2 separate regions of the Homo sapiens genome follow, and region 2 is linked to region 1. Evidence: promoter capture Hi-C in 16 types of primary human blood cells and fetal thymus (Javierre and others, 2016). All regions are on one chromosome and are shown on one strand. The core of a region is centred on a gene start or on the middle of the fragment in contact, and the rest is flanking DNA. Distances in the headings are between cores, read along the strand shown. Region 1 holds the start of MRPL43 (mitochondrial ribosomal protein L43). Region 2 overlaps HIF1AN (hypoxia inducible factor 1 subunit alpha inhibitor).

The links. Contacts are between HindIII fragments. The CHiCAGO score rates a contact against its expected background, and 5 or more counts as called.
Region 2: a fragment that was not itself captured here is called in contact with the fragment with the promoter of MRPL43 in region 1 in 4 of 17 cell types (fetal thymus, naive CD4 T cells, activated CD4 T cells and 1 more); the score reaches 7.1 in fetal thymus.

What each region holds. Positions count from the first base shown.
Region 1 is chr10:100,982,366-100,988,799 of GRCh38, forward strand. MRPL43 (mitochondrial ribosomal protein L43) reads right to left here and starts at 5,132. Exons shown (of 3, transcript NM_032112.3): 1 at 4,948-5,132; 2 at 4,725-4,831; 3 at 3,904-4,610. The coding sequence starts at 5,078. The coding sequence ends at 4,369. TWNK (twinkle mtDNA helicase) reads left to right here and starts at 5,178. Exons shown (of 5, transcript NM_021830.5): 1 at 5,178-6,434. The coding sequence starts at 5,846. It overlaps SEMA4G (semaphorin 4G), which reads left to right. Exons shown (of 15, transcript NM_017893.4): 15 at 940-3,251. The coding sequence ends at 1,766. RefSeq lists an enhancer at 4,891-4,960. The HindIII fragment of the contact is 4,949 bases long and covers 3,721-6,434 here.
Region 2 is chr10:100,556,272-100,562,645 of GRCh38, forward strand. It overlaps HIF1AN (hypoxia inducible factor 1 subunit alpha inhibitor), which reads left to right. Exons shown (of 8, transcript NM_017902.3): 8 at 1-3,727. Among named protein-coding and RNA genes, the nearest start is that of HIF1AN, 24 kb to the left of the region's middle. RefSeq lists enhancers at 5,638-6,276, 6,035-6,114, 6,225-6,274, 6,277-6,374. The HindIII fragment of the contact is 1,639 bases long and covers 3,103-4,741 here.

The sequences.
Region 1 (6,434 bases), core at 3,882-6,381:
TTTGTGTTTTTAAAATACCTCTCATGAAGAATGGATTACATGGGGCCAGAGTGGGCCAGGAGTCATGGAAGGAGAGAAATCAACAGGTCTAAGATAGATGCCAGAAACAGAATCTTAGTGACAGTTAGATACAAACGTGAAGAAGGGCCGGGCACGGTGGCTCATGCCTATAATCCAGCACTTTGGGAGGCCAAGGCGAGTGGATCACTTGAGGTCAGGAGTTCGAGACAAGCCTGGCCAACATGGTGAAACCCTGTCTCTACTAAAAATACAAAAACTAGCTGGGCATGGTGGCATATGCCTGTAATCCCAGCTACTCAGGAGCCAGAGGCAAGATAATCGCGTGAACCAGGGAGGTGGAGGTTGCAGTGAGCTGAGATCACGTCACTGCACTCCAGCCTAGGCGACAGAATGAGACTCCGTCTCAAAAAAACAAAACAAAACAAAAAGGCGAGCAAGAAAGAGAAGGGAGACTCCCAGGTTTCTGACTTAAGCAACTGTGTGGCTGGTGGTGCCATTCACAGTGGTGGCGATTCAAGGAAAGGACTTGGTGTCGTTGGGGAGAAAAGCTTTGGTTTTGAGGTGTCCAAGAGACCTCATGTGGAGATGCCCAGCACATGGTAGATATCCGAGTCTGGCACTCAGGAGAGAAGTCTGAGGTAGAGATTAGGAGTTACTGGCAGATGGCAGAAATTGAAACCACAGGAGAGGATGAGAGCATGGAGAGAGAATGGAAAAGGGCCCAAGGCACTGCCTGCTTCCTGGGAAGGGCCAACGTGAACCTTCTGTGGAAGCATGAGCACAGAGCCTGGGTCAGCTGTCACTGTGATTCTGGGTTCTGTGCTTGGTGCCAGGGACTTGGCAGTGAACAGTCTGGCTTGCCATCTCTAATCCCTTCCTGGGACGGGCTGGTACTGACCTCTCCCCCAAACCCCACAGGGCCACCACCACCACTGAAGACCCGCTCTGTGCTCCGGGGTGATGATGTCCTCCTGCCCTGTGACCAGCCATCCAACCTGGCCCGGGCCTTGTGGCTACTCAATGGGAGCATGGGCCTGAGCGATGGGCAGGGTGGCTACCGTGTGGGCGTGGACGGGCTGCTGGTTACAGATGCACAGCCTGAGCACAGTGGCAACTATGGCTGCTATGCCGAGGAAAATGGCCTCCGCACCCTGCTGGCCTCCTATAGTCTCACAGTCCGGCCAGCCACTCCTGCCCCAGCTCCAAAAGCCCCTGCCACACCTGGGGCACAGCTGGCACCTGATGTGAGACTGCTCTATGTGCTAGCCATTGCCGCGCTTGGTGGCCTCTGCCTCATCCTGGCCTCCTCCCTCCTCTATGTGGCCTGTCTGCGGGAAGGCAGACGAGGGCGCCGACGGAAATACTCACTGGGTCGGGCCAGCCGGGCAGGAGGATCTGCGGTGCAACTGCAGACAGTCTCAGGCCAGTGTCCTGGAGAGGAAGATGAGGGTGATGATGAGGGGGCTGGGGGCCTGGAGGGCAGCTGTCTCCAGATCATCCCTGGGGAGGGAGCCCCAGCCCCACCACCCCCACCGCCCCCACCGCCACCGGCTGAGCTGACCAATGGCTTGGTGGCACTGCCCAGCCGGCTGCGGAGGATGAATGGCAATAGCTATGTGCTTCTGAGGCAGAGCAACAATGGAGTACCAGCAGGGCCCTGCTCCTTCGCCGAGGAACTCAGCCGCATCCTGGAAAAAAGGAAGCACACGCAGCTCGTGGAGCAGCTAGATGAGAGCTCTGTCTGAGCCCAGCCTCCCAGAACAAATGCTCTTCCAAGCCAGCCTATCTGTCCCAGGCTGGGCCACTGCCTCCCTAACACAGCCACCCTCCCTTCATTACCCCCACTCCATACCCTTCTCCCAACTTTTTGATGTCCCTGTAGGGCTGGCCAGTCAGGCCCAGCCAAAGCCCCCTCCTCAGTCTCCACAGACCCACATGTGAGCAGCCCAGGCCCATCGGTGCTCCTCAGAGGTAGGTGCTCCCTCAGGATCAGGTGCCCTGCAGACCCAGAGCCAGTTCCTATCCCCTAACCTAAACACTTATAGGTGAGGACTCCATCCTCCTGTTCCATTCATCTGCCCAAACCCTTTCTCTTTCTCCCAGGCAGGGCTCTGCAGGTCCATATGGGCTCAATGTCACCACCCTCTGCATGGCCCTGTGTGCTGGATGGTCCTGAAACCAGACAAGACCTCTGCCAGCCACCTAAGCCCTGCGTACATTCACATGCACACATGGAAGAATGTTTATCGGCTGGGCTGCAGTGCCCCCACCCTCACCTTCTCCTGGTGCATTCTTGTTTCATCCCTGCTTCTGGACTTGGGGTACCCTCCCAATTGCCACATCCTATCTGGTCCTCTTCCCCAGCCCCATGTGGTGACCTCTTTGTCAAGAGCTTGGGAACGGGCCAGCCTGGGGAGGTAAGACTGCATCACTCCCCTCCTCTCCCTTCCTGTGTGGCCCTTGTGAATCAGCCTCCCCACTCTCCTTGGTCATTCTCAAGAGTATGAGAGACAGAGCTCCAGGCATGTCCCATCCCCATGCACATGTGGTAACACACACCTGTATCACACATGTGCTTACATTTCCACTCACATGCACCTCTGAGCCTCCCTTGCTGTCTTGGACCTGTCTGTTGGGTTTAGTCCGTGGACATTTCAGAGGGAGATCCCCCTCCCATTTAACTGTCCTCACAGGCCCTTGCCTAGGATGGATGACCAACACTGCACTCAATGAGCCAGCCTCTCTTTTGGGGGAATCAAGCATTTGCTTCCTCTAGACTACAGCAGGGAAAGGGAGGAGAAATCTGATGTCTCAACTGGCACATGAAGCCCATTCTTGGAACTATGCAAAGGGCAGAGGCTGGGAGTTTGGACGCTTAGCTCCTACCCCTGTCCTACCTCACCGGGGCACTTTCAGGGGCCAGGGGCCTCTGAAGTCTCTAGGCCTATATGGGACAATCAATTCTGACTGAGCTCCCCCATTCCCCTCGGGTGAGGATGACTGTTATTTTTGTAGCTGAGAACGTGGAATCCCACGGGTTTTTACTGCCCTTCACCCAACCTCTCCCACCTCCACCCCACAATGAATGTATTTATTGTGAGAATGGCTACACTTCTTTAGGAATGCCCCCACTTACAACCAGGTGGGTGGAACAGGCATGTGACAGAGTGGGGAGCCTGGGCTCAGCTCCTCCCCCTGCCGTTGGTTAATAAACACCCTTTTTCCCCACAGCTATGACTAGTCTGCTTCATCTAGATGCGCCCACCCCTGATCACCAGGGGACAGGCTCCTGAGCCTATACAGAAGGTGATATCTGCCTCCAGGATTGGCTCTGCTCCCCAATACAACTATTTGCAGAGGAAATTGGGATCCTCCGCTTCCATCCTGACTCCTTGGCAGGCACACAGGCCTCTTTAGTAAGGTTCACACTATTCATTGATCATGGTGTTAGGGCATGACAAGAAAATGACAACAGTTCAAGAATTCTTACAGGGGTTTCTAGATTTTCATTTCCTGCCTCTCATTTCCCCACCATCCCCCCTTTTTAAACTAAGATTAGAAAATACTCATTAATATCAGCCTTCCTGCCCTTCCCCAAGGTTCTCAGCACCCCCCACCAGCTGGCTCAAGGGACATGGATTTTATTTCTGCACAAAGAGGGACGTGGGGGGAAGGAGATGTATAGCTAAGACCAGAGAAAGCTTGTCAGCCAGGACTTGGTCTGAGAATCACTCCCCTCTCCCTTTCAGGGGTCAGGCCTAGATTAATCACTTGGCCTTTGATACTAACCACCTGACAGTTGTTATATGTTCTGCGTCTAGTTTTAAAATAATGAAAACTGAGGCTTGTGCTTAACATATGCACACATTTTGAAGACAGACCTGAAATGTGACCTTGGATAAGTTTATTAACCTGTTTTATAAATCTGTATTCACACAGATATAAAGTGCCTAGCCCATCACAGCAGAGCTCTCCGTAGCTCAGTGGTTGTTCCAATAAGACATCAGGGATTCTTCAGAAGCCAGCCTTCAGACCTCTCACTGTGTTTTGAGATCATTATTATCAATTTGGATTTAAAAAACAAGGGCCCTGTAAAACCCTTGAAGTCTTCCTCATCTCAGGTTTTAGGGATGCCACTTGCATAAAAATGAGTGGTTCACAAGGTCACTGCCCCCAGAAGCAGGCACTGGAAAGAAACAGGCAGCTCTTCATTATCCCAAGCAGAACCTCTGTCAACTTGCCCATTGATGGGTTCCATTTGCCTGGGCTTGGAATCCCAAAGGGGAAGAACCACCTTTACCGGAGTAACAGTCCAAAGCCTGGGGCTGCAGTTGGTGGGGCAACTCTTCACTGTGCTTGCACCTGGGCTGGGGCAGGATCCTGAACCTCTCGGGGGCGTAGCCCGCGGAACGTGGTCGGCTTGTTGGTGAAGGGGTGCCACTGGCCCTGGATGCTAGGGTTGTCGGTGTGGAAGGGCTTGCGGATGCGGATCACGTCCAAGCCCGACTGGTCGGCCAGCTTCTGCACCAGCGTCGAGATCTCCTCGACCGACTTGCAGTGGATGCTCTCCTCGCGCACAGCCCCGTTAACTGGCAGAAGAGGGGTGAGAGTGGGTGGAAGCTGGCCGGTGCGACCAAGCGAGAAGGAGGATAGCGGGTCGAGCCCCTGATCCCGCCCTCCAGCCCGAGCCCGGCCCCACTCACGGTATTCGGCCACTACTCTGGGCACGCAGCACGGACGCGAGTTTACATATATTACGACCCCTGGATTCCGTCGGGCGAAGTCGATCACCTCCCGCTCCACGAACTCCCTAAGCGACCCGGGACAGTGAGCAGTATGACCCCTGACTGGGGGCGACCTACCCGGGGAGTCGTTGCCACCTCCACACCCACCCCGACCCGCGCCTGCGCACTTCCCTTGGCTCACCTGGCGCCGCGAGACGAGGCGCCGTCGCGGCTGACGCTGAAGCTCAGACGCTGCAGCTGCTGCACATAGCGACCCAGTCCGTTGTGGAGAACGCTGGCCAAGAAGCGGCTCGGAGTCCCGCGCGCCGTCATAGCTACAGCTTGGAGGCCGCGGAGCCTAAGCAGCGAGGAGAGGGGGGCGGGACTAAACCTCGAGGCTTCCGGTTCCGGGACGACCGCTCCCGGAGTTTTGCTTCCGAGGTCAAGGCGAGTAGCATGTGCGGGAGACTCACGTTGCCGGCGAAGTGGGAGAGAGAAAAGTGGTAACCTGGGGCTGGGGGCCGGCGCGGCGGAGCTCGGAGTAGTAGAGCGGAGTGAAGACACGGGGGAGGATAGAGACTGGCATTCCTTTGGGCCGGGGGATTGGCGGGAGTCGTGCTGGGTGCTCTCGCCGTGTTGAGGTCCCAGTGAGGGGAAGGAGAAGCGGAAGAGGGTCTCTAGTCGGGGCCTAGGGCAAAGGGACTACAAAAAGGATGCAGATGACTATAGAAATGAGGACGACGAGGAGATGCTGTGGAGGAGCAGTAGAGGTGAGAAGATGATGCAAAGAAACTGTGTCAGTGAGGAACTGTATAGAGGGTCATAGAGGTGAGGTGGCGGAGAGAAACTAACTAACGGACCATAGAGGTGGGGGAGCCATTGTAGAAGGACGTGGACGCGAAAGGGTCGTGTAGATGGGCATATGTGTGAAGCAGCAACGTAGAGGGGCTGAAGAGGAGAAATTCATGGAGAGAAAGAATGCACCTAGAGTGAGCTCTGCAGAGTGCTGCGTGGGATATCCCTAGAGTTTGGTCTAGTGAAGGCACGCTAACCAGGCACCTAAGGCATTTCAAGTAGTGACTTCCCACATTTGGCTAGGAATGTGGGTCCTCCTCCGAAGTGGGTACCCCCTCCGTATCTTGTTACCCCTGCGTGGGGAGTGGATGGGTCGGAGGGGCCTGCCCCGAAACTTGGCCCCAGGCCCTCCTCGCAGACGTTACAGGAAGGAGACTCTCCAAGCCTTGGATATGCCAGTGTTGCCTGTAACTGCAACTGAAATCCGCCAGTATTTGCGGGGGCATGGGATCCCCTTCCAGGATGGTCACAGTTGCCTGCGGGCACTGAGCCCCTTTGCAGAGTCTTCACAGCTCAAAGGCCAGACTGGTGTTACCACTTCCTTCAGCCTCTTCATTGACAAGACCACAGGCCACTTTCTCTGCATGACCAGCCTAGCAGAAGGGAGCTGGGAAGACTTCCAGGCCAGCGTGGAGGGGCGAGGGGATGGGGCCAGGGAGGGGTTTCTGCTTAGCAAGGCACCAGAATTTGAGGACAGCGAGGAGGTCCGGAGGATCTGGAACCGAGCAATACCTCTCTGGGAGCTGCCTGATCAGGAGGAGGTTCAGCTGGCTGATACAATGTTTGGCCTTACCAAGGTTACAGATGACACACTCAAGCGTTTCAGTGTGCGAT
Region 2 (6,374 bases), core at 2,672-5,171, 430 kb before region 1:
TCCAAAAATATTTTTAACAATACTAAAAATACCTGAAACATACTGGGTGAAAATAAGACATTGGAGCTGCTGCTCCCCAAGGAGATAAAAGGACAGTTCCTAAAGAGGCATTGAAGGTTTGTATGAGCCAGCAGCACAGTCAGAAGGCAAGAAGGAGACCCTGGGATGTGCACAAGGATGCAGGAGACGAGATTGTCACAGAGGCTGTCATGCTAGTAAGAGTCAGAGGTTACTGATGGGTAGAGATTGTCAGAGTCTGCCTTGCTAGTCTAGAGGTAGGACCATGGATTTAAGAACGTTGCCTCCAAGTTTTTGAATTGTGAATTTTTGATCATATTTGAACAAAACCCCACCTACAGTCTGCATGGTCATTGTTCTCACAAGGGTTTGTGTGATGCACTGACAAGAACAGAGGCTTTGGAGGTGACTCCTGGGTTTGAATCACCATTTGCCACTAGCTAATTCTAACCTTAGGTAAGTCAGTGTCTCTGGGTCTCAACCTCTTCCTCTGTGAGGGGTAGGAAATAGCACATAACTTGTAGCATTGTTATAAGGGCTCGTGATAATGTTTTTAAAACACCTGGCTCAAGCACTCAGGAAAATGTTTTATTATGAAGACCAAGTGTCTCTGAAAAGTGTTTCCTTAGTGTCTGGAGAGACTACAGCAGCAAGGCTTTTCTGATCCTACTCTGACTCTCAAGATAATGGTGCTTGAAGTGAAATCACAGAAGAGATGACTGGGGCAGGAAAAGCAAGATGGAAAAGATAAAGTTGTGGAAGGGACTGAAAGTCCATGAAGTGCTGGGCTGGGGACAGAAAGGGTTTAATAGGGCAGGGTCTTGAGGAACAGGAACAGAGACCTTGGTTCTGGGTTGCCATCTGATTCCCAGAAGAGTAAAGGAAATGGGGCAGGAGGATGTCTGTGGAGGACACAGTGTGGCTGAGTGGAGAGAACACAAGCTTCTGGCCAGTGAACCTAAGTGAGAATGTCAGTGGACTTTGCACAGGCTGGGTGCCTTTGGGGGTGTTCATCTCGCTATGCTTCGGTCCCCTCATTTAAAAAAATTGGTTAATAATATGATGACCTGCCAATGTGTGTGGAAATACTATGTAAACTGAGCACTATATAAATGCTGGTTGTTGAGATATTGGGAGTGGGGGTTTCGGGAGATTTTGTTTGTTTGTTTTTTTGAGATGGAGTTTTCGCTCTTGTTGCCCAGGCTGGAGTGCAGTGGCGTGATCTTGGCTCACTGCAACCTCCACCTCCTCCAGGTTCAAGCAATTCTGCCTCAGCCTCCCGAGTAGCTGGGACTCAGGCGTGCGCCACCATGCCTGGCTAATTTTGTATTTTTAGTAGAGATGGGGTTTCTCCATGTTGGTCAGGCTGGTCTCGAACTCCCGACCTCAGGTGATCTGCCTGCCTTGGCCTCCCAAAGTGCTGGGATTACAGGTGCGAGCTACCACACCTGGCCCTGGATTTCTTAATAGGTCCTCTTATGTGGCTATTGAGAATGAATGAGACAACTCATTAACTAACTAAGTTAATTCAGAACTTAGTGCCTAGTAAGTGCTCAGTAAATGTTAGTTTCTTTTCCTCCATTTCTTCTTAGGAAGCATCGTTTACCCAGCATAAACAGGAGGACTCAACTGTGCATGTCTTAGTGTGAACAAGTAACATCAGATTTCCCTTTTCTGAGGAGAGATCAGTTCTGTAAGAGGGAGCATGAGTGTGAATGGGGAAGAATCATGGAGAAGGGAGCAGGACTCCACAGTACTGGAGATGGAGTAGGGACCTCTGGGAATCGTTGGCATGGGGGTGTGGTGCAGAAAGGGTGATGCTAAGAGGTGAGAGTCTCAAGAAAGAAGATGGGTGTTCTAGAGGGGAAAGCTAAACGATGATAGGCAATGAGGAGCGGAGGACAAGACCCTGAACTAAGGGTGAGGAGGCCAGCATTCTGTCAGGAGAACCTTAGGAATTGTGACCAGAAGTCAAAGTTGTTACAGCAATCCTGCATTCAACCAGGTTTCATCTGAAAAACTTAAGAGTTGCTAGGCACAGTCGTGCACACTTGTAATCCCAACACTTTGGGAGGCTTGAGTCAGGAGGAAGCTTGAGGCCAGGAGTTTGAGATCAGCCTAGGCAGCATAGTGACACCCCATCTCTTGAAAAAACAAACACTCTTAAGAGCAGTGGTTCACCTAGAAATAAAAAGCAGAAATCATCAAGATGAGAAGACATTTTGTGTTTTGACAGCCAAGGAAATTTGCCACTGAGACAAGGTATCTGACAGCCTAGATGGGATTCTAGACTTCTGTGAGAAAGTGCAGTTAGGCCCTGAATAGCGTCAAACTCAGGGATGTGAGCTGACTGACTGCCTTTTTATGTAATGGAGGCCATGTGATAGGGCTTTATGAGGCCACAAATAGCACTTTCTGGGTCCTTTCACAGTCTAGTCAGTGGCCCAACCAACATATCTGGTTGTTCTGCAATCTCAGTCATCTGAGAAGATAACCTCCAAAATACATGCAGTGGCATCAGGTGTTTCCTTGGTAGGTGTGCATCTTTTAATGATGGAGGACTTAGGATGAAGAACAGGTGTGTTTAAAAACATCAAACCCCCACATCATTACTATTTGCTGTAAGGATCTATGCAGTTTGTATTTTAAGTCCTTGACATATGGAAGAGCATTTGTGAGAGTAACAGGTTTGCTTTGTAATGCCAACTAAAAAGTGTGTATTTATACTCGAATTTTAAGTTGAAATTTTGCTAAGTTTCTTTTTTTTTTTTTTGAGACGGAGTCTCACTCTGTTGCCCAGGCTGGAGTACAGTGGTACAATCATTGCTAAGTCTTTCTGTAGTTTTAGAACATTTAGAACAACTTAAGATTTCCTGTATTTATAAACTTAATTTATTGGAAATATAAGTACTTGATCAGGTTTTGTCTTGGTCAGATAAATTAAGTACTTAAGGAAATCAAATACATTAATCATATAAATGCCATTTAAGTGTTTAAAGGAGTTTAGTTAAATGTAAGTTGGATCAAACATTAAACTTTTTTGTTTTATAAGCAAAATAATAAGATTTGTTAGCAGAACTTAAAAGCTTAGAAAAGAGAGGATTTTGGATATGTAACTTTGAAGAGGTGAATAGTTTGCTCTTTTCTGAGACAGGGCATTGCTTTTCGACGCAGGCTGGAGTGCAGTGGGGCAAGCATGGCTCACTGCAGCCTCAACCTCCTGGACTCAAGTGATCCTCCTGCCTCAGCCTCCCATGTAGCTGGGATCACAGGCACATGCCACCACACCTGGCTAATTTTTTATTTTTTGTAGAGACAGGGGCCTCACTTCATTGCCCAGGCGGATCTCGAACACCTGGGCTCAAGCAGTCCTGCCTCAGCCTCCCAAAGTTCTGGGATTACAGGCATAAGCCACTGTGCCTGGCCTTGAATATATTTTTTAACCAAAGTAATTTATGAATATAAATTGTTTCTATATAACCCAAAGTCACTCTCATTGACATTAAGAAACTCAGAGAGTGGGTTCTAAATGTAATATTACCACACACCCAAGTCACTTAGCCTCTACAAGTACCACGTAACTAGCAGCCGTTAAAAGATGGCCACCGCTAGTCCAGTCGGCCACAGACATGGTTTTGTTTGGCCAATACAAGTTTTTGAAAGTTTTAAAAAATTGACAACATTAAAGATCAGAAACTTGACCTAAAAAGATTTCTCTCTTTGGAAAATCAGATCTGGCAGTAATGAAATCGCCTTTCCCATGTGACAGCAGTTGGCTGGAGCTGAAGAGCAACTGCCCCCTTGGCTGTGTTCCTTTCAGTTTGTCAATCTCCACTCTTCACTGTTGTACCCTAGATCTCACTCACGTGACCTGTCTGGCCCACATAGATATTTGAGGGTATGGCCCTGAACTTGAGGCACTCTGGAGTTGCTAACAACTGATGCTGGGCAGCCTAGAATAAGGGCTCAGGAAAAGTGTAGGCCCTACCTCTCTCTGTTCACATCATTCCCCCCTCCAGCCAGGCTGTCTTCCCAGCTGACCTGGCTCCAGGACTGATTCCAACCCCTATAGCAACTGTGTAAGAAGTCCCCAGGCTCAGGCTTCTCAGTGTTCACTGCTCTTGTCTGTGACCAGGCACTTTGCCTAGGCTCTGACCTCATGTCTCAGTCCTTTTGAACATTCTGGTCACCTGCCTAGTTTGACCGCAGCCTGACTTTGGTCTGTGAGGGGTCCTGGGCTCTCTGCTTTATGCAGCCACCATATCTGATCTTTGTGATGTGGTTGTGAATCTTCTGCTTCTATCTCCACCATCACTGTCCACTGCTTGGGCAATATGGTTGCTCAGCTGAGAGATTGGCAGCCCAGATTGCTAAAGGCTTAGGAGACATGAAAGGTGAGTTTGGAAGTGTTTGGATTTTCAAAAGAAGGACAGAGGCAGAAGCCAACCACAGTTTAAGGGGGCAGCTAGTAGAGAGCTTTTTAGGCAAGGGAGGCCACTGCACATTTATAGGCAGAGAAGGTGGCAGGACAGAGAATTTAAGAGAATGAGGTCTCAGAGGAGGCATAGGATGATGGGATATGAAATAGCAAAGGCACACCCAAGGTGATCCTGAAGCTCAGAAATATTAAGTCATGCAGGAGGGGGCACCATTGGAAATATAATCCCCTAAAGTTATGAGTAAACAAATGATGGTGGGGTGTGGAGGGTAGAAAGAAGGCCTAAGCTTGATGTGGGGGCCACAGCCTGGGCAAGAGAAATTTCCAGCAAAGCCTCTGACAAATTTCTGACAAAGCCTCTCATGTTATCTAGTTGTGGCAGAAGCATCTGAACCAAATGGCTAGGAAGCTTGGTGAACAGTCAGACCCAGTGAGGGTTGATTAATGGATCCATGTCAGCCTAGACTAGAGGGAAGTCTCCAGCAGTATGCCTTAGGGCTCAGTCTGGGCCTGTGTCCTCTCTGACATTTTTATTGACAACTGACCGAAGCAGCAGGCTCATCAAGTTTGCAGGTGATAGAGCTAGGAGGGGCAGTTAATACTTTGCATGAAAGAGTCAGGATTCAAAACGATTTCAACAGGCTGGAACACTGGGCTGGAACCAACAAGATTAAACTTAACAGGGATAAATGTAGAGTCCTGCACTTAGGTTAAAACAAAATCAATGACATAAGTACCGGTTGTAGGGGTTGGCCCAGCTTGACAGCAGTTCATGAAGAAAAGACCTGGGGGGTTTAGTTGACTGCAAGCTCAATATGAGTCAACTGTGTGATGTGACTGCTAAAATCCTAACACAGCCATGAATTGCATTAACCAAACGGAGCAGCCAGATCAAGGGAGGTGTTACCCCACTGCTTTCTGAGATGGTCAGGCCACCTCTGAGCACTGGGTCCAATTCTGAGGTCTTTTCCCCTGCTAAGGTCAGTGACAAATGAGAATATTTTTGATAGGAAGCCACCATGGCAGTGGGCCTGAATACTGTCCGAGACTTGCCAGTGATTCTATGGTGCTGAAATTTCTGGAATGAAGGACAGGAGTCTAGAATCTGAACCCAGGCAAAGACTTTTATCTGGAGCATATTTCTAGGATTTAGGGGAAAATTTGGGGTCTGCATTTCCTCACTTCCTATGGCTGCCCAGAGGCATTGGCCTGTGACTCTCATCCCTGGCCTTCCTGAGGTCAGGGGATTAGCGATTAGTTAGACGGGGTCTAGGGTAGAGGTCAGCCTGAGGGGGCGGCTATAAAACGAGTCATTGAGGTGGGAGGGAACCTGGAAATTGGGACCTCACGCACCATATTTCCCGCGCTCTCCCCTGGGACGTGCCGTCCCTGCTGCAGTCGCAGCGTGGCGCCCTCGCTCCACGCAGGGATCCTGAGCCAATGGCGGAAGCGGAGTGCGCGGCGAGGTCGCAGTTGCGTTTCTCGCACTCCCCACTGCGGGGAGCCCGTGGGCCCCGCACTGCAGGGAAGCTGCCGGCCCAGGTCTCCTGGGTGGCAAGAAGACGCCTGTGGTGTGGAAGAACCTCGCCCGCAGCCCAGCACGTGTAGAATCCAGATGTGGCTTCTGCTGGAGCCACGTGTTCCGGCCTGAGCGACGTCGCACGTGGCCTCCTGGCCGCAGAGCCCATGGCGCGGGGGGCCACTCTTCTGACGCAAGGGTCTGTGGGGCCGCGCAAGAGCCTGGGGCCCCCGACCTTCCGCCGACTGGCCGTGGGCTGGCCGCAGCCCAGCTCGGCTCTGTCTCGAGTTCCTTCGCTGTTCAAAGCAGAGTGGCGGCCACGTTCGGGGGCACTGGGGCGAGGGGTCGGGCGTCGGACGGGGCCCTGGGTCTGTACCGTTTCGGGCTCGCCGGAGGGGC